Regions from separate parts of the Homo sapiens genome. Here all the other regions are linked to region 2. The links are contacts of gene promoters, found by promoter capture Hi-C in blood cells and fetal thymus (Javierre and others, 2016). All regions are on one chromosome and are shown on one strand. The core of a region is centred on a gene start or on the middle of the fragment in contact, and the rest is flanking DNA. Distances in the headings are between cores, read along the strand shown. Region 1 has its middle 31 kb from the start of LINC02691. Region 2 holds the start of C14orf180 (chromosome 14 open reading frame 180). Region 3 overlaps KIF26A (kinesin family member 26A). Region 4 has its middle 71 kb from the start of LINC02691. Region 5 overlaps LINC02691 (long intergenic non-protein coding RNA 2691). Region 6 has its middle 89 kb from the start of LINC02691.

Region 1 (4,393 bases), core at 1,883-4,382, 390 kb before region 2:
CCACCAGTCCCCACCTCCAGCTCTTCCTGGCAAGCCCGTGGGGAGGGGAGGAACTTGGCCTGCGTTCCCACAGACTGGCACAGGGAGCAAATCTGCCCAGCAAAGGTTGGGTGGCCTGCAGACCCAAGCCCACTCTGCTGGACACCTGGGCTCAGGTGCTAGACCGGGGGCTGCTCTTGCGGGCAGAGGAGGCCTCTGAGCTGCTGCCGGGAGAAGGAGGCTGGGCTCCAGGGTCGGGGGTTCAGGGCTGTGGGTTTGGGGATCTGGGGGTCCTGGGTCTGAGGATCTGAGGTGGGAGGACCTGGGAATCTGTGAGTTTGGGGATTGAAGCTTCAGCTCAGAGCCCAGTGCTGCTTTGGAGTGTCCCCTGAAGGAACCTGGAGTAGAGCACCAGCATTTTCTTCCAGAAGCTTCTTTTGGGCCACTATTGTCTCAGACTGGTACCCGGCCAGGACATGCATGGGAAGGTGGCCTCTGGTGGCCTGTGGCCAGCTGTGCTTGGTGACTTCCAGGCCAGAGCCTAGGTAGACTGGCCCAAACCCTCAGAGGGTCCCCCCAGGGCAGATGGGCTTCCCGGTGTAGGCTGTATCTGTGGAGCCCAGGGAAGGGGGCGTGCGGGAGGGCAAGGGGGCTGCTGAGGGTGGGATGTGGGTGGAGGAGGCAGGATGGAAGGCAGGGGCAGGGCTGAGACCTGGCAGTAATGGGGCCACACTCAGAAGGACCCACACTGTTATGCCCAGTCGTCGCCACCTTGAAGTTCATAACGACTCTTGGATAAGGTGCCCAGGGTTTCTGTTACGCTGTGGGCCCCACCCAAAATTATGTGGCTGGTTCTGAAGAGGGGACTCTGGGAGCGGGAAAGGCAGGCACAGAGGCTGAGGTGGGAGTGCTGGGGAGGCCGGGGGTCCACGCTAGCTGTCTCCATTCCTGATTCCTGCCCTGGGGGCAGAGGGTGGGGCTGGTCGGGCCTGCAGCTCACTGTCCTGAACCCCAGTTGCCTCCATCCCGTGCCTCCTCCCTGCTCCCCGCCATGAGCCAGGCTGCAGAGGTGGGCTGTACTCCCAGACTCAGCATCAAAAACTGCCCTGTGACCTAGGAAAGCCCCTTGGCCTCGCACTGGTGAAATGACACTGACCTTTGATTTTTGCACTTTAAAGGGTGGAGGTTGGAAAGGTCTGGCGAGAGCCACAGCCTGGCCTTGCAGGAGCCAGCTCCGACCTGTGACCTCAGCCCCCTGGGCCTCAGTTTCCCCATTATGGAAATGGGAACTTGGAGGCTTAGGGCTCCCTGCACAGTGGAGGTGGGTGGGTCCCTGAATGGGGAGAGCAGAGGCTTTGGGGCAAGAAGTTTTGGTGGGTGAGAGGCAGAGGTGGGGAATGCAGGCAGGGGCCTCCCCTTGCACCTGCATTCAGGGGAACAGAGGACGTGTGGGCCAAGACCCTAGGAGGTCTGAGGACTGGTCCCAGGTTGGGGTGGGCATGGTGGCTCGGCCACCGTGGGGAGGCAGAGGGCTGCTCGTAAATCCACGCTGCTGTCAGCTGAACGGCAATTGCGGATTGAGGCGGCCATCGGGGCTGACCTCCTGGGTCTGACGGGTCCATCACAGAGCAGCACCGCAGGGAGAGGCGGCTCTGCCTGGGAACCCACCTGCACGGACCACACGGCCCAGGGCCTGCCAGTTCCTGCCTCCCGTTCCTGGGTGGGGCTCACCTAGTGTCACAGAGACACGGAGTGTCGGGCAGTGACTGGCCTCAGTGCCCAGACCAGCTGGGCTATCTGAGTGCAAATTCTGCCTGCTGTGTGACCCCAGGTGTGCTACTGAACCTCTCTGTGCTCCTCTGAAACTGGAGATCCGTATTCACCCCTACCTCACTGGGGCTCAGTTAGATGATTTGACCCGGAGTATGCAGCTTAGTGGTGCCTGGCACATAAGGAACGCCAATGGATTTGGCTCCAATGGGGATGGCACGGACAGGGGTAGGATGATGTGTGCACAGTGCAGCCTCCCGTCGGGTCCACGGCCAGGCTCTGCTCCCACCAGCTGTGTGGACTCAACATGGAGCCTGGGAAATAGAAAAAGGCCTGTGAAGTGCCCGGAGCCAGCGGCACAGGGTGGGGGCACCAGGAGCTGCTGCCTGGTCCTCTCTAGGGCAGTGACTATTTGCTGCCATTGCCACGGGGATTTATCGGGGCCCCTCCATGTCCAGGCGTGGGCAGGTATCCGTGTCACCCCGTGTTACAGACCAGGAAGGCCAGGTCCAGGGCAGGCCGGCCTGTGCAAGGCTGACGGGAGGAAGGAGAGCCAGGCCTCTCCCTGCCTCGCCTCGCAGCAGAGCCCTGGGTCTGGGCAGGAGGACGGGCGGCCACAAGGAGGGCCAGACCCACCCTGGGGCCACACTGGGTTGCGTCTGCCCCTGGGGTGAGCCTGGTGGAGCCGGAGGGGCACTGCAGAGGGGCAGAGGGGTCTCCTCGCACTCGGCATGGACTCTGCCCCTGCTCCTGAGACTGGTTGGCCTTGAGGGCTCCTCCGGGAGCCTGGTGCCCTCACTCTTCAGAACAGCTCAGCACCCACAGCCTGGCCAGCTGGAGCAGCTGGGTGGTGGTTCAGATGGGATGGTGGGGTCAGTGGGACAGGCTCTGGCTTCTGGGGGCAAGGAATGAGCTGGAGGCAGGGGAAAAGGAAGGGGCTGGGCGTTGGGCGGGCTGGCACATGGGATGTGCCTGCTGAGGCCTGTGGGCAGGTCTTGGTCTGGGGACAGCCCTGCCCCTGTGTGTACCTGGCTCCCTGCTCCAGGCAGCTCCCCAATCTCAGGCTCAGCTACCCGGGGCCCTCTGCCCTCGTCTTTCTGCCCAGCTCTTGGGGGCTGTCCTGCTTCTGTCTCCCAAGGGCCTCACCCAGAGCTGAGGCAGGGGTGGGGATGCCCCCTGCCTGTGGCTGGTTGGCCTGCTCTCTCTCCTGCTCCCTTTGCTGTGAGTTGGGTGAGGAGGGGGCTCCGCCGCACTTGAGAGCTTCTAGCAGCAGCGCACCAGGCACAGGCATCGTGGCGTCGGGTGGCAATACATGGGGTGTGAACATAGAGCCGGGGCAGGTTGAGCAGACTCGCAAATGAGCTCCCAGCCCCCAGGGAGGCCTTGTGGGAGACCCCAGCCCACTCCCAGGGACCTACCCCAGTGCACCCCTGGGGAAATCAAGGCTGGGGTGGTCTCCTCTCGCAAGGCTGCTCAGCCCTCTCCTCCCCAACCACCGAGGCCTCTGCTGGGCGAGATCTCACAGCCTTCAAAGGCAGAGCCCTGGTGCCCTTCTCTTGGCATCTGTGCCCACTTCTCGGCCCCCACCCCGGCCACTCCCCCCCACCCTGTGGATGTGTCTTTCATCTGTCCCTTTGTGGCCCTCAGCCCTGTCCTCCTCCCTGCACTCTCCCTGGGCCACCTGCCCCTGCCCTGGGGCTTCACGTCCCCCTGGGCCACCTTGGCCCCCAGACCCCATCCCTGTGCCCCACATCTGCAGTTCCATCGTTTCTCTGGTATCTGCCCCATGTCCCTCCGGCCCCCAGATCTCTCAGACTTGTTCTCCCCTGTGCACCCCTCCTGGGGGCCCTGTTTCATCCTCTTCCGGAACCGGGGCATCAACTTGGGTTCCCTCCTCACCCTCAGTGCCTCCACCCAGCCCCAGTGCCATGGCAGGGTCGGGACCCTCAAGCTCTCAGGGCTGGTCCAGGAAGAGCCTCTGTCCAGGTGACCTGGGCACAGGGGGAGCATGGCAGTGGCGGGGGCAGGTGGGAAGGGATTGGCTTAAAATGCAGCATTCACTTAAAAACACAAAGAACATTTGTTCACCATGAAGTCAGGTCCTGCTCTGGTTGGTCTGTTTTTGGTTTTTACCTGGTTTTTTGGTAATTACCTGGTTTGCTTTGAGCTGCTTCCAGGCATCAGCCAGCCCCATATCCTGGTGGGGTTTCCTGGGGCCCCATTTATGCTCCCTTGGAAGTACCAGAGGGTCTTCTTTTCTCTTAAAGAAACAAATATTTGCACAGTTCAGCGCTGGGAAGGCCTCTGGCCGAGGTGGCCCGCGCACCCTGAGCCATGAGGGGTCAGGGCTGGGCAGAGGGGAGGGGGTGGATGAACGGCTTCTGCAGAGACAGTCTTGGCTCCACAATCTCCTCAGCTCAGGAGTGTGGATGTGCCATCCTGGAGCAGGTGCCTGTCTCTCCATGGTCCTGGCTGGGTGCCGTGGGTTCCGGACGGCAGGGCACCTGCCCATCCAGGGCTCCGGAGCAGCGAGGCTAGGCTGGGCCTTCAGCTCTGTCCTTGCTGGGCAGCGATTTCCTCTTCTGGACAATGGGGAGAGCTGTCCCTCGTCCTGGAGGGTGAAGTGGGTGGTGTGCGTGATGAT
Region 2 (4,560 bases), core at 27-2,526:
GTGCTCTCCCTGGAACAAGCGTCAGCGAGCCAAGGCCCTCCTGCCAATCTGGCCCACCCCGTTTGTGTAGACACAGAGCGCACTGTGTGCCATATGGCCCTGTAAGAGAAAAGTTTGCTCCCCCATGCCCTGTACTGAAGACGGCAGTGAGGGGAGGGCCGGTCTGCTGAACCCCATCCCAGTGGCTGCGTTGCTCATGCTCTGACGGTGGGTTCCAGGACTCTGTGTCCATGCAGCCCCACGGCTGGCCCTGAGCAGTCACCCTCTGTGCACACTGTCCCCCAGCCTGGCACACCCTGGGCTCCCAGGGGTCCTGTAGCTTTACCCAAGGGAGATGCACCCCCATTCCTAATGGAGAAACACGGGTCTCTCCACACCTCCTCCAGCAGTCCCCTGAAACAGGTCAAAGCCCCACAAACCAGGCAGGGGTCTGCCCACATGTGGTGGTGCCCTGCGCCAGTGATGCCCTCACCAGCCTCTTTCAGACCTGCCTTTACATGCACCAGCAGACGGGGGGGCTGGCGAGGACGGGCCACCAAGCCTGAGCCAGGCTACCACCTCCGGGCTGTGTGACTCTGGACAGGGTGCCTCAACTCTCTGAGCTGCACTTTCACCTACAAATGAGGGGCAGACTCAGCAGCGCCAGGCAGGGCAGTTGGACGCCCACCCAGGACAGACCCTGAGAAAGGCTGATCCCTCACCCCTGCCATCGCTCACTGACCCATACATTGCCCCTTCCTGCCAGGGCAATATCGAGGGTCGGCCAGTGTGCCCCAAAACGGCAGCTTGGGACCCATTCTTTGCCTCTCCCTCTGGCAACCCCAGGTCAGGACTCACAGGGGCACAGGGGCCTGGGGCAGGGCGGGCACTCTCGCCACCACGGAGGCCCCATGCTGGGTCAGGGTCTTATTGGAGGCTGGACTCTGTGATCACCTCACCTCCCGCAGCCCCACAGTGCCCTCCCTCTCCCACTCTGCCCCGAATTCCAATCCATAGGTTTTTCCAAGAGCTGCACAGCTCTGGAATTGACCTGGGAGGGGGCACATTTGGGCCGGGAGGGGTAGGAACAGCAGCAAACTCTGGTCTTATCTGAAATCATGGTCTGTTGTCCACCGGGGGCCTGGGAAACAGCCACCCCCTTCTGCTCCGGGGCCAGCGGCCTGTCCTCGGGTTCACTGCTATTTCTGCCAAAGGGGAGAGGTAATTATAGCCTGGCCGCTGCCAGCTGGCCCAGCTTTGCGATCCAGCAGAGAGGGCTGGAGACGGGACGAAGGCCACAACAGACCCGGCCCTGCCAGCGGGCGGTGGCGCCTCCAGATCAGAGCCCTCGGGAAGGAGGCCTGGGCGGGCCTGGCCCGTTCACCTGTGTGCCCTGCAGTTCTGCCCGAGGCTCAACTCTCAAGGGCCTGGGAGGGGTGCTGCCGGCCAAGAGGGTCCAGGACCTCACTGGACTGTGCCCCACAGGGAGATCCCGAAGAGCCTGTTTCTGTCCCTCGGGGAGCCAGGAGGGAACCAGGTGAGTTCCAGCCCCAGGGAGAGGGGGCTCACTTCCTGCTTGGGTATGAAGATGCCAGAGCGGAGAGATTGCCAAAGGCAGGTGCAGGTGGGGAACCTGCCCCAGCTGGGCAGCAGGTGTGGGCAGAGACTGGGCAGAGCGGAGAGATTGCCAAAGGCAGGTGCAGGTGGGGAACCTGCCCCAGCTGGGCAGCAGGTGTGGGCAGAGACTGGGCAGAGCACACACTGATGATCCTGAGTGACCTGAACAAGCTCCAGAGTGGCCACCCTTCCCCCTTCTCCTGGGACTGATGGTTTCCCTAAAACGGAGACAGTCCCAGGCCGGCCCTGTGTCCACACTGAGGCCAGGCCGCCTCTGGGGGAAGCAGGGAACACGGCCACTTCAAACTTAGCAGCGGGGGTGCTCCTGGCCACACAGGAGCTTCCAAAGGGCACCTGATGTTGCGCGAAACAGCCTGGGCAGTGGGAGAAGGGGCTGCACTCTCAGGGGAATGCAGGCAGCCGTGCCAGGCATGAACCCAGCCAGCCTTCCCTGAAGGGCCTTGGTGGGGGGCATCCTCCGAGGGCAAGTCTACGCAGGCCCAGCCTAGCAGGAATGGATTCGTTACTCCAGTAACTGAAGCCTAGTTCTCAGTGTTTGGGAATCCCTGAGAACTGGCTCTTTTCTGAGCCGTCAGTCAGAAGGAATCCCTGTCCTGCCCTGTGTGGCCATGGGACCCCCACCCAGCACTGGACGCCACGCCATTTCTTGGGCACTACTGAGCTTTGCAGTGCCCTGGACAGTTGGCAAACAGCCCCCATTCCACATATGGGAGGAAGGGCCTGGGGGGGTCCCCCGCCCTGTCTGTCTGGAGCTCTCGAGGCCTAGGGTGGCCCCTGCACCCAGCAGATGAGCAGCCATCACCCGGTACTGCTGCTACCTCGAGCCCTAACTGCACCTCGGGATGTGAGGGCCCATCTAGGCATGGAGAGGGGCCTCAGGGGGCCACCAGGCAGCTCCTGCTCCTGTTCCTACCTGGTAGGGCCTGCAGGCACCTGAGCAAGCCCAGTGGGCGGTCAGCCCAGCCAGGGGCCTCCCCACAAGTTCTCCCTCTTACTTAAGTCGAGAACGCATGTTGTCTGGGGAGCTGCCAGCGTGGTTCCAGTGGTGAGCGTTGGGCTGGGAGCCAAGGCTTTTCCCAGGAGCCCAGCCACCCCGCCTGGCTGTGTTCTGCCTCCGCCCTGCAGAGGAAAGGCCAGCGAGGCAGTGTCCATGGTCCCAGTCTTCTTCCACCGGAAGAAGGCACAACCTGCATCTGCAGCCCCAGGGCCATTGGGTTAGGCCTGTGGCCAAACTACTAAGGTGCTGGGAGACTGAGGAGGCCCAGCTCCTCCTGGGGCCACCAAGCCCGTGGTTGACGGCCTCCCCATGGACCGGGCTGTCCCGAGAGCAGCAAGTCAGCCGGGGCCCTCAGGGCCGCTGAGGCCACTGCTCAGTGTCGCCGTAATGGAAACTTCTCAGCTGGTTGTGAGCCGCAACAGCTCTGGTTCACACCCTGCGACAGCGAGGCTGTGACCGCCAGTGGATCTCGGGGCTGATCAGGCCTGAGCCACCCCGGAGGTACAGCACCAGCAGGAGCCCAGGTGGGCAGGGGCAGAGAGAGAGAGAGAGAGAGAGAGAGAGTATGTATGTGTGTGTGTGTAAGTGGTGGGGGTGGGGGCTGTGAGTCTCCAGCTTCTCCCAGGGAGGTCTCTGGCTTCCCAGGAGCCTGGCCCCCTGTCTCCAGCTCCCAAGTGAGTTGCCCTGGGGGAGGCTGCACCTGGAACAGGGAAACAGGGAGCCTGGCCCCAGCCTGCACTCGCTCAGGCCCCGGGACCCTCTGCCCCTGGAAGGCTGTGAGGCTGCCGTGTGAATGGGTGCAGTGCCAGGCGAGGGGTGAGCCGGGAGTGTGGGGCCGCACGCTCAGAGCCGAGGAAGGGCAGTGCCAGGCGAGGGGTGAGCCGGGAGTGTGGGGCCGCACGCTCAGAGCCGAGGAAGGACCTCCCATGTGGGGTGGGTGGGATGTCAGGATTTCTCACGAGCCAGCTGCTGCATGGGGGGCACTGCCCGCCCCGAGGAACCCTCAGGGAGGACAGAGAAACATCAGGAGGTGGGCTGTGGGCAAAAGGGCGGGCGGCACGGGCCAGGCAGAGGCAGCAGCCTGGGAGGAGGCGGGAAGCCAGCGGGCGGCGTCCTGGAGGACGGGGCAGGAGTGGGAGGGAGCAGCAGTGGCTGGGCCCCAGAGCTTGGCGTTATCCAAGCCACAGAACCAGGCAAGAACCACTGGCCCGCCCCCACGCCCCACTGCAGGCTGGTCTCGAGGGGGAGGGACTCGGCACTGCCACGGCCGCTGGGCTCCATCAGTGCCCTCACGTCTCTCAGCAGCTTCAAGATGAGGTGGGGTCTTTGGGGTACTGGGCTAGACCCCCAAAGACTGTTGGAGGGTCACACCCCAGACCAAGGTCCTGGGCCTCAGCCCTCATGGCCCCACCTCCCACCAGCAGTACGGGCTGGTCATGCCCACAACTGGGAGCTCCGGGCCCTGACTCCCGCCTCTGTCCCAACCCAGGCTCTGAAACCTGGCAGGCTGTTCTCCCTCTCTGGGCCTCAGTTTCCCCTCCGCCAGGGAGCTCGGTGCCCCCTCTCAGTAGAGGAGCTGGTAAGAACCCCCCAGCCCCCCAGCACCAAGGGAGGCGCCATGGGGTTCCTGTTCCCAGAGTGGGGGTAGAGTCCCCTCGGGTGGACGCGCCCTCCCCAGCAGCGGGCCTAGCGGGACACTTACAGGTCCAGGCTCTGAAGCTATTTTCCGCCCTTTATCTCCCATCTGTCACGAGGCCTCCAGTTACACACTGTCCCTGCCAGAGGCCCCAGGCCTCCCCGCCCCCACCTGCCGAGCATGCCAGAGCCACTCCTTCCCTGCTTCCACTGGGGAAAATGAGGCCCAGGGAGGTCACACCACTTACCCGAGGTCACAGAGCCAAAGAAGGACAGAGCCCAGGACTTGAGCCAGACCTCTCTTCCAGAAG
Region 3 (4,164 bases), core at 691-3,190, 420 kb before region 2:
AGCCTCCTCTCATCCTGATGGTGTAAGGATGCGGATTACAGGATGTAATTGCCATAATGCCTGGTAATGGCAGGCCCAGCCGCGGGTCAGTGTCCCATTAGCAGCCCCACGCGGGTGCTGATAAGCTTGAACATGCATCACACCCAGCGGCCAGAGACGAGGGCGTCTTATCAGCGCCGGCCCTGGGGACCGTGTGGTCTGATTGCAGAGTGACGGGGCATATGATTAGGGCATTGTCGCACGCCGTGTGCCGGGCTGAGGGCTGATGAGCACACCATCGCGTTGGAGCACAGCCAGACCGCGCACGTGACCAGTGTGGCCTCAGCGCCACCCCAATTAGGTGCCGAGAGCACGGCTGGCTGGGACCCTGGTGGGAGCAGATGGGGGTCTTGCCCATCCTGCTCTGGGGTCCCCCGTGTGTGGGACAGCCCACCCCGTCACAACCGGCCTAGTCCTGAATTAAAGGGCCTGTGCGGCTGTTCTGGGCACAGCCCTGTGGCCGTGCTCCTTTGGGTCCTGTTTGGCAGGAGGATTTGAAACGTGGAGACTTCCAGAAAAGAAAGAATAGCTCCAGTGCTCAGAGCTCCCCCGGTCCCTGATGCTAAGCCCCCTGGTGCCAAGGAGGGTTCCTGACACTGGGAAGTAAGGGTAGGGTGTCGGCCCCCAGGCCGGTGCGTTGGTGACCTGGAGCCCAGCAGAGCGGCCCTGGCTGCCTTTTGTTTGGGAGCCGAGGCCGGTGCCGCTTGCCAGCCGCGCTGCCTGCTGACCTTGGGAAGTTACCATAGAAACCAGCGCATCGGGCTGGGGACCCAGAGGCGGTTCTCCCAAGGCGGGGGCGCTGCCGGCTGCCATTACTTCCAGCCTGTTAGGCACCCTGGGTCTCAGCGGCTTCTGCGAGGCCACTGCAGGTGGCAGGTCGTGGTTCAGGTTGTGGCGGGGGACATCCTGGCAGGTGGGCCCTGTCGGTGGATGCCTGACGTGGGCTGGGGTCGGTGGTGGGTGACCTCCTCTGTGGGGCTGCAGTACCCTGAACCCTCAGGGGTGAGATCAGAGGGGGTGTCCACTCCTGGGTTTTGTGGGTGTGGGGCTGTGGCTCTGAGTGGGGACGAGTCCACCAGGAGACAGTGGAGCTTCAGCCCCCGCCCCAGGGGTCTTGGGCACGTGCTGAGGGTACCTTCTGTGCTCCCACCTCCACCCTCGAAGAGGACCTGGGAGGGAGTGGCACTGACCCCAGCCCCTGCTCTGCCCTTGGGAAGTTTCCAGTCTGGAGGGACCGAGGGGCACCTCTGTGGAGGCAGCCTTAGATGGCAGCACGGGACCCGTGTAGCAGTCAGGGCAGAGTGGCCTCTCAGGGAGCGGGCTTTGAGGGTTGAGTAGGAGTCTGGCAGGCAGCATTGCCAAGTGGAGACGGAATGGGGTGGAGGTCAGGAGTTTGAGTTTTTGAATCCCGTGGGCCTGGGGAGTCTCAGCTCTGCTGCTGCCCACAAGCACCCCCCAGCCGGATTAGGGCACCAGCCTCAGGCTGCCCCCTGATCCTTTCAGTGGCCTCTGGGCTCCTTATGTCCACACAGGGAAGCTGGGATGTGGAGTGATCCCATGGGTGCCCGGGTACCCGAGTTTCGTTAATGCTAACAGGGGCATAGATAGAGCAGGGGCTGAGCCCCATGCCCTCACCCCCTGGGTGGGGCCTGGGGAAGCTGCAGGGATTGAGGCAGCGCAGCTGTGACAGAGCTTGGCATGCTGGCCCAGCAAGTGTTCGGGAGGGTGGGGCGCGTGGGCCGGGTGGCCCCGGGGTTAGGAGTTCTCCGAAGGCTCTGGTGACCCCCAGGGTTAGGAGTTCCCTGAAGGTTCTGGCAACTCTGATGACGCTGTCTGAGGCCCCGCTGGTTTGTGCCGGCGCTGGGAGCCTCTGCAGTGCCTCCTCTGAGGTACTTCCGTCATCATACTCTCACCTGCTCGCTGCCATGCTGGTATGGGGGTCCCCTCCAAGACCCCAAATCAAATGTCTTTGAGAAAACTGCTAAGGGAGGTTGCTTCCATTGGGTGGGGAGCACCTCATGGCACTTGCAGGTACCCAGGCCCCCCACTCCCCACCCCACTGTGGCCTCAGCAGAGCCCCCGTGTCAGCCTGGATGCCCAGGCCCATGGACGGTCAGGCTGGCACCCAGCAGAAGTGCAGCGCCTGCGGGGAGAGTGCGCTGCCCGAGGCTTAGCTGGGGACCCACATGGAAGGCACTGTCTGGAGAGGTGTCCCCACCTGTCTTCTGGCCTGTGGGTGAAAATCCAGGACACAGGAAGTGTGGACCACAGCAGGGCTGGGAGTTGGAGGGGCTGATGCCTCAGTCTCCAGCTGCCTCCAGCTGGGGTCCAGGGTCCCCTTCGCAGGTCTGCAGGACCCAGCTGGGGTCCCCCGATGCCTGCCCTGGTTCCTTGGTGGGGCAGGTCCGGCAGGTGGCAGGTGCCCCTGGGGTGAGGTGGGGGTAGGGAGGGTGGGGCTCCGTCCACCAGCCTCGCACGGCCCAGTGTGGAAGCTCTGGGTTGGCCATAAGTGATTCCTGCACGCGACAGAACAGGCTCGTGTGTCTCCTTGGGGTAATTAAGGGCCTCACCATCAAGGCCAACTGCCTGTGAAATTACCCTCTTGTTTGGAAGCGGTGATTTTTCTCTGTAAAAAGGAAAATATTTCCTTTTCTGTTGACATGAATCGATGGCCAGGGCCAATGAGCCCAGGCAAGGCTGTGGGATTGCAGCAAGACACCTGGTGGCTCTGGGGGCCGTTCAGGTGCCCGCTGTCTCGTTCATCCTCGCTCACGCGTGTTCTGAGCTTCTTCTGTGAGCATCTGCCCCCAGACCCCCTGCTGGCAGGGACATAGCTGTGTAAACTGGTGTCTCACGGCAGGGGGTAGTTGCTATAGAAGCAGGAGGCGCAGGGGCTGGGGACACCCATCTCAGGGCATCAGGGCAGGCTTCCTGGAGGAGGTGTCCTGTGAGGATGGGGGCTGTTTATGCAGGTGAAGTTCCTGCTTTTCTGAGTCTTCCCTTCAGAGTCAAACCCCTCAGACTTGCCCACTGAGGGCCGCCGCTCCCTGGCAGTGTTGGGTGTGGGCAGTGTCTGCTGTGGCCTGGGGGAGACAAACCCCACTGCTCAGAAAGTAAGTTCCTGCCTCCACAGGGCCGTGGGCCCTCAAGGGCTGTTGAACCCAAGCGTGGTAGCCAGATGGGGGCTGCTGTGTCTGATGGTCGTTTCCATGGGGGCCTGAATTTCATCAAAGGAGAAAGTGCTCGTTCTGGGGCCTCGTTAATGCAGTGGCAGGTCTTTGAGTCATACCAGTGAGGTAAGCCCGTAAAAGCAGGCACCGGGAGGGCCCAGCAGGCTGGGGTGCAGCCTGTTGGCGATGGGCCCCAGGAGGAGGAGGCGCCTCAAGTTAGGTCAGATTGTGGGGTGGAGATGTGGGGCGAACAACCTTCCAGACTTCCAGGGCTGATGGAACCACAGAGGACGCCCGGTCCCAGCCTCTGTCTAGGCGGCCTGGGCCCTGGGTGTGCCCGCTGTGGCCCAGGCATACCTGAGATCTGTGCTGCGGACGCTGCTCCTGGGAGGGTCACTGGAGGGGCAGAGCCCTTGTGTGGCCGACGGGGCAAAGGGCCAGCCTGGTTTTGGCCTCTGCAGACCTAAGGCTCCAGCCTCAATCTCCCTCTGGCCTCTCCAAGTGCTGCTCCAGTCTCCAGTGCTTGCCCGGCCTCCGCGTCCCCTGGAAGCTTGGGGGTGTGGGTGCCGATGCCCTATTGCCCACAGCCTTGGGTTGCAGCTGGTACCTTGACCCTGCCCAGCCTTGGGAGGGGCTGCAGGGGAGGGTGGAGGAGCTGGCTCTGGGTGGGCGTGACCTCTCCCCATCCACTTGAGGCCGAGCCAACACCCTCCAGTGAGGGCTGGTGCTGGGCGTCCCCCACATCCATTTCCAGAGGAGGAAAGGGGTCCAGGGAGGCTCCCTGTCCCTTATAGGGGCCACCGTGGGGACCGTCCTCAGCCCTGCCTGTCCAGGTAGGGTGGGGGGCTTCCCACCTGCACCTGCAGGGCCCTGCCCTTCCCCCCGCCCCGCCCCAAGAAACCTGGGGTCCCAGCCTTGGAGCAGCACCAGGCAGCAGGGTGGGGTAGCCCTGTCC
Region 4 (4,361 bases), core at 1,378-3,877, 280 kb before region 2:
CACCTTGGCCAGAAGGTGCTGATGTCATGGGCCGAGGGCCTGAGCGAGGGCCTGGGAGTGCCCACCCCACCCTCTGCAGCCTCCTCTTTCCCACAGCCTCTCTGTCCTCCAGTATCCAGAGGCCCTGAGCTGGTCACCCCATTGTCACTTTGTGTTACTAAAGCCCCGGGCCAGCCATGCCACCAGCGTTTTGGCTCCCGCGTGTTGGGGCGGGGCCCGGCAGAGCTCTCGGGGCGGCTGTTTGGAGTGGGCGCAGGGCACACAGGCACGATGTCTCTGGTCATCTGTTCCAGGTGTCCACAACGTTGATCAGCTTTGAGAGATCACGTTTCTGCGTTTCTCAGACCTGCCTTGGAAGGGGTCTTGCTGGGGCCGGGAGAGGGGCTCTGCTGGGGAGGGGGGCTCTGCTGGGGAGGGGGGCAGGGGTGTGGGAACGGGGGTGTCGACAGCTGGGCACGGAGCAGAGTCCCTCAGACGTGCTCCCCGCTTCTCCCCGTGACTCGCCACCTCTTTCTGAAAGTGGGTTTTGTTCTCCCCAGCATCTGTGGTTTCTGATGGATTCGAAAATATTTAATAAATATTTGGCTTCCATTTTCAAAATGTTCTGTGCTCTTTTTAGGTTTCCTTATGGAAAGAGACTGAGATATTCTTATTTCAACTCCCAGGAGCCCATGGGTGCCTTTTACTTCCTCCCACTCTTACCCCAGACTGCCTGGTTTGTCCTGGTTTGGAGGTGAAGGCTCTGGCCCGGAGCTGCAGAATCGGTTCCCCAGGGCTTGCAGGAGTAGGCCAGGGGCCTGGAGGGCCAGGGGGCTGCAGGGGCCAGGGGACTGCAGGGACCGGGGGCTGGAGGGACCCGGGGGCTGGAGGGGCCGGGGGGCTGCAGGGGCCATCTGCTGCCGGCCTTTTCCCTTGAAAACAAGCCAGTGCTTCATTTCCCTTCTTTTAGCAGCAGGTGAGCTGGCCGGGGGCCTCAGAGCGCTGGCCCAGGTGTGAGGGTCACGCTTCTGCGGGGACGCCAGCCAAGGCTCACCCATCCCCAGAGATGTCCTGTGAGGCCCCAGCGTGACTCAGAGCCCAAACGAGATTGTCTTGGGAGGTGCAGAGTTGGGAGATGCAGGCTGAGATGAACCCCGGGGGAGGGGCAAGGCCAGGCAGAGGTGAGTGCAGAGAGCAACGGAGGGAGGGGGCTGCCAGGAAGGGGCCCTGGGCAGGATGGAGGCTGTCCACAGCAGCAGCCTGGTTGGTAGCTGGGCCCTACCCTCAGGCCTCCTCCTCCAAGGCAGGACGGAGCAGTGGTTAGGATCACCCCATCCTCCCAAAGCAAAGGCATCCTCTGTTCTGGGAGCTGAGAGCACCAGGGAGCTTCCTCCTGCTGCCTGGCCCGGGTGAGTGTCTGGGAGGGGCTGGGGCAGCCTGGTTGGTCACCAGAGTGTGGTCATTGTCATCTGCATCCCGGGGTGAGAAAGGACAAGAGGGCTGCCCTCTGCCTCCCTCCCGTGCTCCCTGTCCTGAGGCTGGCGGCTGTGAGAGAGAAGATTGTCGCTCAGCAAACACTATTTCCTCATCCACTGTCCCCATTGATGGCAGGCTTGGCCACCGGGCTCGATTTAGCCGGAAGTGGCCATGTGCCAGCTCCCAGCTGAGGGCTCTGGTGACCCTCCTGTGAAGAGCCTGCCTTGGAGGCTGCAGTCCCAAGGAGGAGGCTAGACTCAGCCCTCGTCCTCCAATGCAGCTGCAATGAGCCTGCTCCTCCTGCTGGTGGAAAATGCAGGTAGGCACGTAAGCCACCAACCCTGGGGGCTCAGTCAAAATCCTGAGGACCCCCAAGGGGCAGAGCCGATGGGGCCTTCTGACCAGGGTGCCCAGAATGGATGGCACTGGGGGACACAGGCTAATTGCGGGGGAACAGGTGAAGGTGGGTGAAGCAGCTGCGTGTTTGGGGCAGAGGGAGAGGTATTGTGAGGGTTAATTTTATGTGTCCACGCGACTGCAGACATTTGGTGGACTCCGATTTGGGGTGTGTCCGTGCAGGTGTTTCTGGATGAGATTCAGGCTGGAATCCGTAGACTGAGCACAGCAGATGTCCCTCCCCCATGCGGGTGGGCCTCGCTCAATCAGATGAAGGCATGACGAGGAAACTGGTTGCCTTGCAGCCGGGAGGGCGGCTGCTTTCCTGCTTTCAGATTTGAGCTGGAACATCAGCTCCACCCAGGTGTCGAGTCTGCTGGTGTCCGGCCTGATTTGCCACCATCAGCTCTCCCAGGGCTCCAGCTTACTGACTCGGTGCAGGTCTGCGGACTCAGCCTCCATCATTGTATGAGCTAATTCACTGCAATAAATCTCTCTTTCCACGGCCTGTTGATTCTGAGTCTCTGGAGAGGAGAGTACAGCAGCAGTGGGTGACAGACACCAGGGACCTCATTGGCACTAAGGATTGTCCCCGACCGGAATGCGGAGTCCGGGCTGAAGGAGGTGACTCCCCACCTCCCTGCCCTGCCCTGTGGTGGGGATGGGTGGGGGGAAAATGCCCAGTTCCTGAGCTGGACTCTGAGTGACAGTGGCCCTGGTTAGTGGGGGCCCTCTGCTGGGCGGTGGCCGGAGGGAGACAGGGTGCCAGGCCGGGAGAAATGTTTAGAGGGCATCAGTGCCAACTTCCTGGGCACGGTGCAGGTGTGGAGAGAGCTGCCCCCAGCCTGAGAGGATGCTGGGTTGGGCTTATCTCCACTCGGAATCGAGAGAACTCACCGTCCCCAGAGCCGGACTGGCTGCCATGGGAGGCCACCCCACGAGAAGAGAGGAGGAGCCGAGGCCTGTTGCTGAGGGTTGCGGAAGGCAAGGAGGAGGACACAGAGGGGCCCTTCCCAGGCCTCTGTTATCACGGCTCATTTCTGGAGTCCCAGAGCCGGGCAGAGCCAGGCTCAGCACAGCAAGGATGACGGCCCAAGTGGAAGCACTGGCAGGGAGAGCTGGGACAGACGCAGCCCCAGACAGGCTGGACCCCAGGGACGGTAAAGGGTGCACACCGCTTGCCCCACTCGTACTCTGCGCCCAGCAGCTCCCTGGATGGTGGCCGGGCAGGAGGCTGTCCTGACTGATCCCGCAAATGTATTTACAGCTATTGACGGCCTGAACGTGGCCTATTGATCCACGCCTGAGCCTGGCCGGGCGGCGCGTGCACTTGGCCAGGGCAGCCCTGCGTGACGAATGGGCAGCTCACAGCCCACCCTCTCCGACAGGTGATTGTTTCAGTGAAAATGAGAAATGATGATCAGGGCTTAAGGCTGATGATTGAGGAAGATTTCCAGCGACTTTGCAGGTCGTCTCGGTGGTGCTAATAGCCAGGGCCTCCTACAGAGAGGCATGTTCCCCGACTAGGCAGGTCACCATGAATGTCTGCAAAGACGCTGTCCTGGCGTGGGGACCCGGGCAGGGGCACAGGAGGCACAGACGTTCCTGCCCCTTTCCCTGGCTGGGTTGCGCTGCTGAGGTGGGCCAGGTGGGGTTCACTCTTTCTGGCTTCTAAGGGGGTTCCAGACCCCAGATGGGCCTGGGGAAATGAGGGCTTTGTGTGGACAGCCCCATGGGAGAGGGGCTGTTCCCAGCCCTGGTGCCCGCCTGCCTAGTCCTCCCTGGGACTCTGGGCCCAGCCTTATCATTCCTCTCTTCTCTTCTAAGATGAAAAGAGGATTCCTGCAAGTGGAGACGAATCCTCGGGCCCCTGAGCTGCAGGTGGTGAACAAGGAGCTGAGGGCCTGCTGGTTCCCCAGGAGGGCAGGCAGGGCTGTGCTAACGAGGAGAAAGAACCGAGTGAAGGAAGGCACGGAGGTGCCAGGGAGAGACCAGGAACCTCCTCAGCTTCCTGGCTTCCTTCCTGGCCCAGGCCCCCTATTCCCGGGGCCCTAGGCTGGGCTGAGGTCCCCTCGCCCTGTGCAGGGCCTGGGGCTCAAGTTCTACCAGCTGTAGCCTGGGGCCTGAAGGTCCATCTGATATTTGAAGGACTCAGAAGGCCCTGGGAGGGTGTTGGCAGGAGTAGCCTCAGTGTTGATTCCTCGATGGCCCCTGAGCCAGGTTCAGGAGCACAGAGAGACGTGGGTGCCACCTCTCCCGAGCTTGGAGCTCACTCTTGGGGGTTGAGATGGGGCCAGGAAGGGGTTAAAGCAGGAAGCATCTTGCAGGGCTGTTAGGAAAATGATATTCTGCTGTTTGACGTCATTTTAATTCCATTTCAAGGGCATTTAATCTTATTTGCCCGATGACTAATCCCCGGCCTTGAGTGAATTAATGTGCGGCCCCTTCTCTGAGGGGAAGCGGGACCCTTTCAGTGGAGACATCGCGTCACCGCGTCCCGCCTCTTGCTT
Region 5 (3,962 bases), core at 1,463-3,962, 350 kb before region 2:
CACCCACTACCTACGTGGGAGGCAAGGACCCCCATTAGCCCGGCTGGCTGTGGGGGAGGGGCTGACAGAATGTCAGTGGGGTGGAGGGGAGAGGAGGTGATCAATGAGGACTTATTGACTTGCATCTTTCCCCACGACTTGATTAAGACCACTATGGAGATGAGGCCTGAGGAGGGGGCTAGGGCCAGAGCCCCGGGCCAGTGTGGCTTAGGGGATCTTTTATGTTTGGAGGGCAGGAAGGGAACAGAGAGCTGCCGGCTTTGTCAGATGCCTGAAGAGTATTGATCCATATTAGAAATGATAATGAGCCAATTCTGCTGGGCTGGGAGGCCTTAACCATTTCATTGCTTACAAGGCTGTCCTGGTGGGGATGTTGGAGGAGGCTCAGCCTCTAGCTGCTCCTCACCATGTTTCTCCTCGCTCAGGTCTGCAGCTTCCCAGGCCACGACCTGAGTCCACTGATGGTCCTGGAGGTCTGGCCAGAGGGGCAAGGGCAGCAAAGGAGAGGAGCACAGGACTGGGAGCTGGAGCCTGGTTCTGGGATTGGCTAGACCCTGCGGGGTTTGCCAAGCACCTGGTGGGTGCCTGACATTCTGTGCATCTCCTCGGGCACCTCTAAGGTGGTCAGGATGACCCTTACTGCTATAATGACAGATGAGATGAAGGCATGGAGGCTCATAGTTGCCAAGAGGCCAGGCCTCTGCCTGCCCCTCCAGCACTCTGGGACGTGATGCTGCCCCTCAGACCTGCCACTTGCTGATGGAGCTTTGACTTTTGTTGAGTCATTTACCCCATCTGGGACCCACTTTCCTCATCTGTAAAATGACAACCACAGCAGGCTTGCTGAGATAATTCAGAGAACAATGACAAGGGCTCATACAGTCCAGCCCTGCACCAGCACTTGGTGGTGGGGCCTGGCCTGAGCCTAAAGCTTGACTCTAGCTCTGTGTCCACTTTAGTGAACATTTAAAGTTGAGGAGTCTGAGTTTGCTCCTCCATGGAGGGAGGACATGCCATTCATCTTTCTAAATGGTTGTGAGAATCAAATGAGTCTATGCATGGGGAGTACCTAACATGTAGTTGGTGGTTAACAGAAGATGGCTGTCATCATTGTCATTGTCACCATCACCATAATCATCATATCACCATCACAACACCCTCACCACCATCATCATTACCATCATGATCATCACTGTCACATCATCACCATCATTACCATCATCATTACCATCACCATAACACTCCATCAACATCACCACCATCATCACCATCGCCATTACACTCCATCATCAACATCACCACCATCACCATCACCACCACCATCATCACCATCACCATTACACTCCATCAACATCATCAACACCATCATCATCACCATGACCATCACCCCATCATCATCATCACCATCATCACCGTCACCGTCATCATCACCATCACCATTACACTCCGTCATCACCACCACCATCATCATCACCATCACCATTACACTCCATCATCACCACCATCATTACCATCACCATCATCACCATCATCATCATAATCAATATTATCACCATCACATCACTCTCACCACCATCATCACCATTACCATCATCACCACCATCACCATCATCATCACTATTGCATCATCGTCACCACCACCATCCTTACCATTACACACCACCATGAGCATATCACCACCATCATTACCATCATCTTCATCACCATTATCATCACCATCACATCATCATCATTATAGCTATACCATCACTGTCATCAGCATTACTATCACATCATCATCACCATCATTGCCATCATCATCACCATCATCATTGCCATCATTATCATCACCATCATCACCATCACTATCATATCACCATCATTATAATCACTATCACTGTCATCATCATCGTTATCACCATCACATCATTACCATCACATCACCATCATCACCATCATCATCATGGTCATTGTCATCATTATTATCATCCCTGTCATTGTCATCATCTCTTCATTATCATCAACTTGGCAGAGATTGTGGTTTTGTTCCCATCCCAGAGAGATCTGAAGATGCTAATTCCATCCTTGCCTCTATTTATCCCCCAAGTCCGGCCTGCAAGGGAGGCTGCTAATCTGGCTGCTGAGTATGCCAGATCCATGGGATCCAGGGATCAAGTGGCTCAACCCCCTGGGATCCATGCACTGGCATTTGTCTGTGGAGTCCAGTGGTAGGTCTTCCCACTACCAGGACACCAGGCTGGGTAGGCAGGCAGCATGGGGAAAGCTTGAGGGTCAAGGCTGTGAAGCTGTGGTGACTGATGTGGGGTCTGCTGATGGGGAGGGGGTGCTTGTGCAGGTGGTATGGGGCTTACTCTACTGCTGCTCCCCAGGAGTAGGAGGAGGGGCTCCAGCTTAGGATGACATATTTGGCTGCTTTCTACACAAAGAAGATGCCTTTGTTCAAGCTCAGGCTGGTGCTGGAGAGAGCATCATCCTGACCTGGGCACAGCTAGGGAACATCTCTTCTGGGGTATCATCTTATGAACCATTAGAGGCTTTGGCTTGGGCAGAACTGGGTTTTAGTTCCATCCTGACCCTGACTTGCTGATATGGTTTGGCTGTGTCCCCACCCAAGTCTCATCTTGAATTGTAGTTCCCATAATCCCCACACGGGAGGTAATTGAATCATAGGGGTGATGATTTTATAAGGGTCTTCCCCCCTTTTCTTGGCTCTCATTATCTCTCCTGCTGCCCTATGAAGAGGTGCCTTTTGCCATAATTATAAGTTTCCTGAGGGCTCCCCAGCCCTGCAGAACTGTGAGTCCATTAAACCTCTTTCTTTTATAAGTTACCCAGTCTTGGGCAGTTCTTTATAGCAGTATGAGAATGGACTAATACAATAAATTTGTAGCAAGAGTGGGGTGCTGCTATAAAGATATCCAAAAATGTGGTAACAGGCAGAACTGGGTAACAGGCAGAGGTTGGAACAGTTTGGAGGTCTCAGAAGAAGACAGGAAGATGTGGGAAAGTTTAGAACTTCCTAGAGACTTGTTGAATGGCTTTGACCAAGTTGCTAATAGTGATATGGACAATAAAGTCCAGATGATGGTCTCAGATGGAGACGAGAAACTTGTTGGTAACTGGAGTAAAAGTCACTCTTGCTATGTTTTAGCAAAGAAACTGGAAGCTTTTTGCTCCTGCCCTAGAGATCTGTGGAACTTTGAACTTGAGAGAGATGATTTAGGGTATCTGACAGAAGAAATTTCTAAGCAACAAAGCATTCGAGAGGTGACAGAGCATAAAAGTTTGGAAAATTTGCAGCCTGATGATGCAGCAGAAAAGAAAAACCCATGTTCTGGGGAGAAATTCAAGCTGCAGAAATTTACATAAGTAATGAGGAGCCAAATGTTAATCACAAAGACAATGGGGAAAATGTCTCCAGGTCATGTCAGAAGTCTTCACAGCAGCCCCTCCCATCACAGGCCTGGAGGCTTTGGAGGAAAAAATGGTCTTTTTGGCCAGGTGCAGGGCCTTGCTGCTTCATGTAGTTTTGGGACTTGATGCCCTGCATTCCAGCCATGGCTAAAAGGGGACAACATACAGCTCAGGCTGTTGCTTCAGAGGGTGCAAGCTCCAAGCCTTGGCAGCTTCCGTGTGGTGTTGAGCCTGCAGGTGCACAAAAGTCAATAATTGAGGTTTGGGAACCTCTGCCTAGATTTCAGAGGATGTATGGAAATGCCTGAATGTCCAGACATAAGTCTGTTGCAGGGGTGGAGCCCTTGCAGAGAACCTCTGCTAGGGCAGTGTGGAAGGGAAATGTGGGGTTGGAGCCCTCACACAGAGTCCCCACTGGGGCACTGCCCAGTGGAGCTGTGAGAAGAGGACCACTGTCCTCCAGACCCCAGAATGGTAGATCCACCAACAGCTCAGCTTGCACTGTGCCTGGAAAAGCTGCACAGCCCATGAAAGCAGCCAGTATGGGG
Region 6 (4,480 bases), core at 1,306-3,805, 270 kb before region 2:
ATTGCCTGCTCTGGCCCATCTTCTCCAGGTAACAAATGGCCCTGAAGCCCACCTCTGGCATGCTTGCAGCCCCTTGGCAGTGCTGGGATGTAGGCTGGGTAGGGAATCCTTTATAGAAGCCCAGAGCAACAGATGAACTTGGGGAGGGCTCCCCTATGGAAGCGACTTTGGGACTGAGTCAGGGCAGGGAAGAGCACTGCAGGCAGGGACACGGCAAGTGCAAAAGCCTTGGGGTGGCAGGGAGTGCCAGGAGCATGCAGGGCTATGGCAGGGTGGCAGGGAGTGCCAGGAGCATGCAGGGCTATGGCAGGGTGGCAGGGAGTGCTAGGAGCATGCAGGAGTGTGGTGGGTGGGGTGGTTGAAGGGAGAGGGACAGTGTGGCAGTGATAGGGGGCCCCAGGGGTGGATGGAGCAGTTCATTTGGAAACAATACAGTCCATTGATCAAAAAGAATCTCAAAGGAAATTTTAAAATTACCCAAAACAGTATAAAAAACAAGCGAACTACAAACTAATAACCCCTCATGAATACAGACATAAAATCCTTACCAAAATATTAGCAAACAGAAGTCAGTAGTATATAAAAAGAATATACACTATGACTCAGTGGGTTTATTCCAGGGATGCAAGGCTGGTTTAATATTTGAAATCAGTCAATATCATTCATCATGTTAACAAGCTAAAGAAGAAAAAAAAAATCACATGATAGTGTCAATCTATGAAGAAAAATCATTTAACAAAATCCAGCACTCATTCATGATAAATTATCAGCAAACTGGGAATAGAGGATGATACGGTTTGAATATAGTTTGTCCCCTCCAAAACTCATGTTGAAATTTGATTGCTATTATGATGGTGTTGGGGAGTAGGACCTAATGGGAAGTGTTTGGGTCATGGGGATGGATCCCTAATGAATAGATTAATGCCATCTAACCACAGTGCATTCTCCTTCTCTCAGGACTGGGTTAGTGATTGTGACAGTGAGTTGCTATAAAGTGAGATTTCTCTTTGTGTTTGCTTTTGCATTGCACATGCCTGCTTGCCTTCCCGCTTCACCATGTCTCGATATAGCACAAGGCCCCCACCAGAAGCTGAACAGGGGCTGATGCTGTGCTCTTGGACTTTCCAGCCACCAGAATCGTGAGCCAAATAAACCTCTTTTCTTTATAAATTACCCAGCCTCTTAGGTTCTGTTATAACAACACTAAGTAGACTAAGACAGAGGTGAAGTTCCTCGTTTGCTAAAGAACATCTACAAAAACCCTACAGCTAACTTTATATACTTAAAATTATAACTAACTATGTAATTAATACTGAATTTCTTTCCCCAAGATTGGAACAAGTATATATATATATACTTAAAATTATAACTAACTATGTAATTAATACTGAATTTCTTTTCCCAAGATTGGAACAAGTCAAAGATGTGTAATTTCACCATTCTTATTCAACATAGTGCTGGAAGTTCTAGCTCTTGCAATAAGACAATGAAAGCAAATAAAAGACATAGTATATATATCTGAAAGGAAGGAATATGACTATCCCTACTTGCGGAGGTTGTCTACATAGAAAATCTGAAGGAATTGACAAAATATTCCTAGAACTAATCAGGAATTCAGCAAAGTTTCAGTGTACAAGATAAACATACAAAACTCAATTGTATTTCTATATCCTAGCAATGAACATGCAGATGCTGAAATTAAAAATAGAATACCATTTACAACTACTCAAAAAATGAAATAGTTATAAATTCAACAAAACATGTACAGGACTTGTGCTGAACAGTATACAACATTGATGAAAGAAATCAAAGATATAAATAAGTAGAGAGAATGACTATGTTCATGGATTAGAAGACAACATAGTAAAGAGGCCAATTCTCCCCAAATTGATATGTGGGTTTAATGCTATTCCTATAAAAATCCCAGCAAGCTTATTTTGTAGACACAAACAAGATAATTATAAAATTTACACGAAAACAAGAAAGACTTAGAATAGCTGAAACAATTTTGAAAAAGAATAAAAAAAAATCCTGCCATCCAATTTCAAGACTTTTTAGATAGCTATATTAGTCTAGATGGTGGTATTTGGTCAATTGGCTGAGGGATGGACCCACAAACCAATGGACTAGAACGAGAGAACTCAGGAGTGGAGCTACACAATAGTACCCAAATGATTTTTGACAAAGTGAGATCTCACAAAGTGCAAAAGTAATTTAATGGAGGACAAATAGCCTTTTAGCAAATGTTACTTGAGCAGAAAGAGAGCCTCAGTCTAAACATATCACACGTTATACAAAAATTAACTCAAATTGGACAAATAGTTTAAGTGTAACAGGTGAATCCAAGAAACTTTTAGAAAAAAGCATAGGAGAAAACCTTTGGGAACTAGGGGTAGGCAAAGAGTTCATAGACTTGACACCAAAAACATGGTCCTTAAAGGAAGCATTGATAAATTGGACTTCATCAAAATTAAAAATTGTCACTCTATGATAGAATCTGTTAAGAGGATGAACAAGCTACAGAATAAGAGAAAATATCTGAAACCACATACCTGACAAAGGATTAGTATCTAGTATATACAAAGTACTCTCAAAACTCAACAGTAAACAAACCTTAACAACCCAATTAGAAAATGTGCAAGACCCCTGCAGAGACATTTCATTGAAGAGAGAAGATAGATGGCAAATAAACAGATGAAAAGATGTTTGACGTCATTAGCTACGGAGGAAATGCAAATTAAAACACAAGGAGATGTCACTACACACCTGTCAGAATGACTAACTTTTACAAAGAATGAAAACACCAAATGCTGGTGAGGATGTGGAGAAGCTGGATGGGAATGTAACACAGTATTGCCACTCTAGAAAGACAGTTTGGCAATTTCTTTAAAAACTCAATTACCCTATGATGCAGTTGTTATATTCCTGGTCTTGTATTCCAGAGATATGAAGACATGTTCACATAAAACATGTACATTACTGATTAGAGCAGCTTTATTCACCATAGCCCTAAACTGAAGTCAACCCAGATGTCCTTCGATGGGTAAATGATTAGACAAACCATGGTGCCTCCACACCATGGAGCACCACTCAGCCAGGAAAAGGAGCGAGCTAGTGACACGTCCAGCCACCTGGGTGAATCTCTAGAGAATTATGCTGAGTGAAAAATGCCAGTCCCCAAAGCTTACATACTGTATGTATGGTTTCATGTATATAACGTTCTTGAAATGGCAAATTTATAGAAAGGGAAGAAGAGACTGGTGGTTAGCAGAAATTAAGGAGTGGGTGCAGGGGGTGAGAGGAAAAGTGGGTGTAGCTACAAAAGAGCACCCTGAGGGTCCCTGAGGGGTGGGTGCTCTGTGTCCTGGTTGCATCCATCAACACCCTGGTGGGGATACCGTGCTAGAGTTTTGCTGGAGGTTTCCACTGGGGGGGACGGAATGAAGGACACATGGGATCTGTTTGTGTTATTTCTTGTAGCTGCTTGGGGATCAACAATAATCTCTGAATAAAAAGTGTAATAAGTAAAGCAATAAAAACAACGAATAAAGGCATATGTATCACCAATTTAACCTGCTTGGGACGTGGCCCCTCCCTGTTCTCACTCTCTAGGTCTTCTTCTCGGCTGGATGTTGGGTTTGGGGGAGGGCAGGGGTATGGGAGGGAGGGGCTGCTCTCAGAGCATATGGAACTGCAGGCTCTTCTCATTGAAGGAGACGCATTTCCATGTCAAGGTTAGGAAACTTCTGAGGACGCATCAGAGGAACCTGAGGCCTCTGAGGCTGGGGGAGTCCCCTTCTCTCACCACGTTCCCCGGGGCAAGGCCCAGCTTCGACCTCAAGGTCCCCCGTGCCAGGTCAGGCCCTGGATGGGCCTCTGGGCATGTCCTGGCTCCATCTGCCTCCATCCCAGCCTGGATGCGTGTGTGGAGATCCCAGCCTGGATGCGTGTGTGGAGTGGACGACAGGCCTCCCAACTGCTGAGCAAACTGCACGAGCCACACACCTTTCTCAGCATCGTGCTTGCTGCCTGTCTCAGCACAGACTTGAGGGGGGGCCTTTGCTGAGACCCTGGATGAAACCCTGCAGCCAAAGGACAAGCCCGGAACAGGCCTGCAGGTGCCACTTCCAGAACGCCTTACTGCTCCTTGTCCAAGGAGTGGCTGCAACTCCACCTTTTCCCTGGAACAGGCCACCGGGGCATGTGGGTGAAGCCTGAGGGTCACTGCACCAGGCACCCTGCCTTGGGGTCAGCTGGACCTGTGGCCTCGGAGGACTCGCTTCCTGGCTCCTGCTCTCTTCTGTGGCCTGTTGGGCTCACTGCTGCAGGCCCAGCGTGGACTCTCACCCAGAGTCAGCGCCCGGTGCCTGGGGGCCCCTAGGGTGGAGGAACTCAGTCAGTCCCCAGGTGGTCTGAGCCGCCCATTGGATGCCCAGCCCTGCACAGTGGCCCTGCCCCGCCCTGCCCAGCCCTGCCTCTG

Evidence for each region. The method cuts DNA at HindIII sites, captures the fragments that hold promoters and counts their contacts. A CHiCAGO score of 5 or more calls a contact.
Region 1: a fragment that was not itself captured here is called in contact with the fragment with the promoter of C14orf180 in region 2 in 13 of 17 cell types (naive CD4 T cells, endothelial precursors, M2 macrophages and 10 more); the score reaches 13.5 in naive CD4 T cells.
Region 3: a contact is called between a fragment that was not itself captured here and the fragment with the promoter of C14orf180 in region 2, in 13 of 17 cell types (megakaryocytes, naive CD4 T cells, M0 macrophages and 10 more). The highest score is 13.4, in megakaryocytes.
Region 4: a contact is called between a fragment that was not itself captured here and the fragment with the promoter of C14orf180 in region 2, in 1 of 17 cell types (endothelial precursors). The highest score is 5.2, in endothelial precursors.
Region 5: a contact is called between a fragment that was not itself captured here and the fragment with the promoter of C14orf180 in region 2, in 2 of 17 cell types (M2 macrophages and endothelial precursors). The highest score is 5.8, in M2 macrophages.
Region 6: a contact is called between a fragment that was not itself captured here and the fragment with the promoter of C14orf180 in region 2, in 2 of 17 cell types (endothelial precursors and M2 macrophages). The highest score is 6.0, in endothelial precursors.

Annotation. Positions count from the first base shown.
Region 1 is chr14:104,189,998-104,194,390 of GRCh38, forward strand. No RefSeq gene overlaps it. Among named protein-coding and RNA genes, the nearest start is that of LINC02691, 31 kb to the right of the region's middle. The HindIII fragment of the contact is 5,448 bases long and covers 409-4,393 here.
Region 2 is chr14:104,578,488-104,583,047 of GRCh38, forward strand. C14orf180 (chromosome 14 open reading frame 180) reads left to right here and starts at 1,277. Exons shown (of 5, transcript NM_001008404.3): 1 at 1,277-1,516. The HindIII fragment of the contact is 16,067 bases long and covers 1-4,560 here.
Region 3 is chr14:104,158,832-104,162,995 of GRCh38, forward strand. The region is part of intron 4 of KIF26A (kinesin family member 26A); the gene reads left to right. Among named protein-coding and RNA genes, the nearest start is that of KIF26A-DT, 22 kb to the left of the region's middle. The HindIII fragment of the contact is 3,634 bases long and covers 124-3,757 here.
Region 4 is chr14:104,292,565-104,296,925 of GRCh38, forward strand. No RefSeq gene overlaps it. Among named protein-coding and RNA genes, the nearest start is that of LINC02691, 71 kb to the left of the region's middle. RefSeq lists enhancers at 604-1,272, 1,273-1,940, 2,255-2,946, 4,330-4,361. The HindIII fragment of the contact is 5,388 bases long and covers 1-4,361 here.
Region 5 is chr14:104,230,671-104,234,632 of GRCh38, forward strand. The region is part of intron 1 of LINC02691 (long intergenic non-protein coding RNA 2691); the gene reads left to right. Among named protein-coding and RNA genes, the nearest start is that of LINC02691, 9.1 kb to the left of the region's middle. The HindIII fragment of the contact is 903 bases long and covers 2,262-3,164 here.
Region 6 is chr14:104,310,452-104,314,931 of GRCh38, forward strand. No RefSeq gene overlaps it. Among named protein-coding and RNA genes, the nearest start is that of LINC02691, 89 kb to the left of the region's middle. The HindIII fragment of the contact is 1,252 bases long and covers 1,930-3,181 here.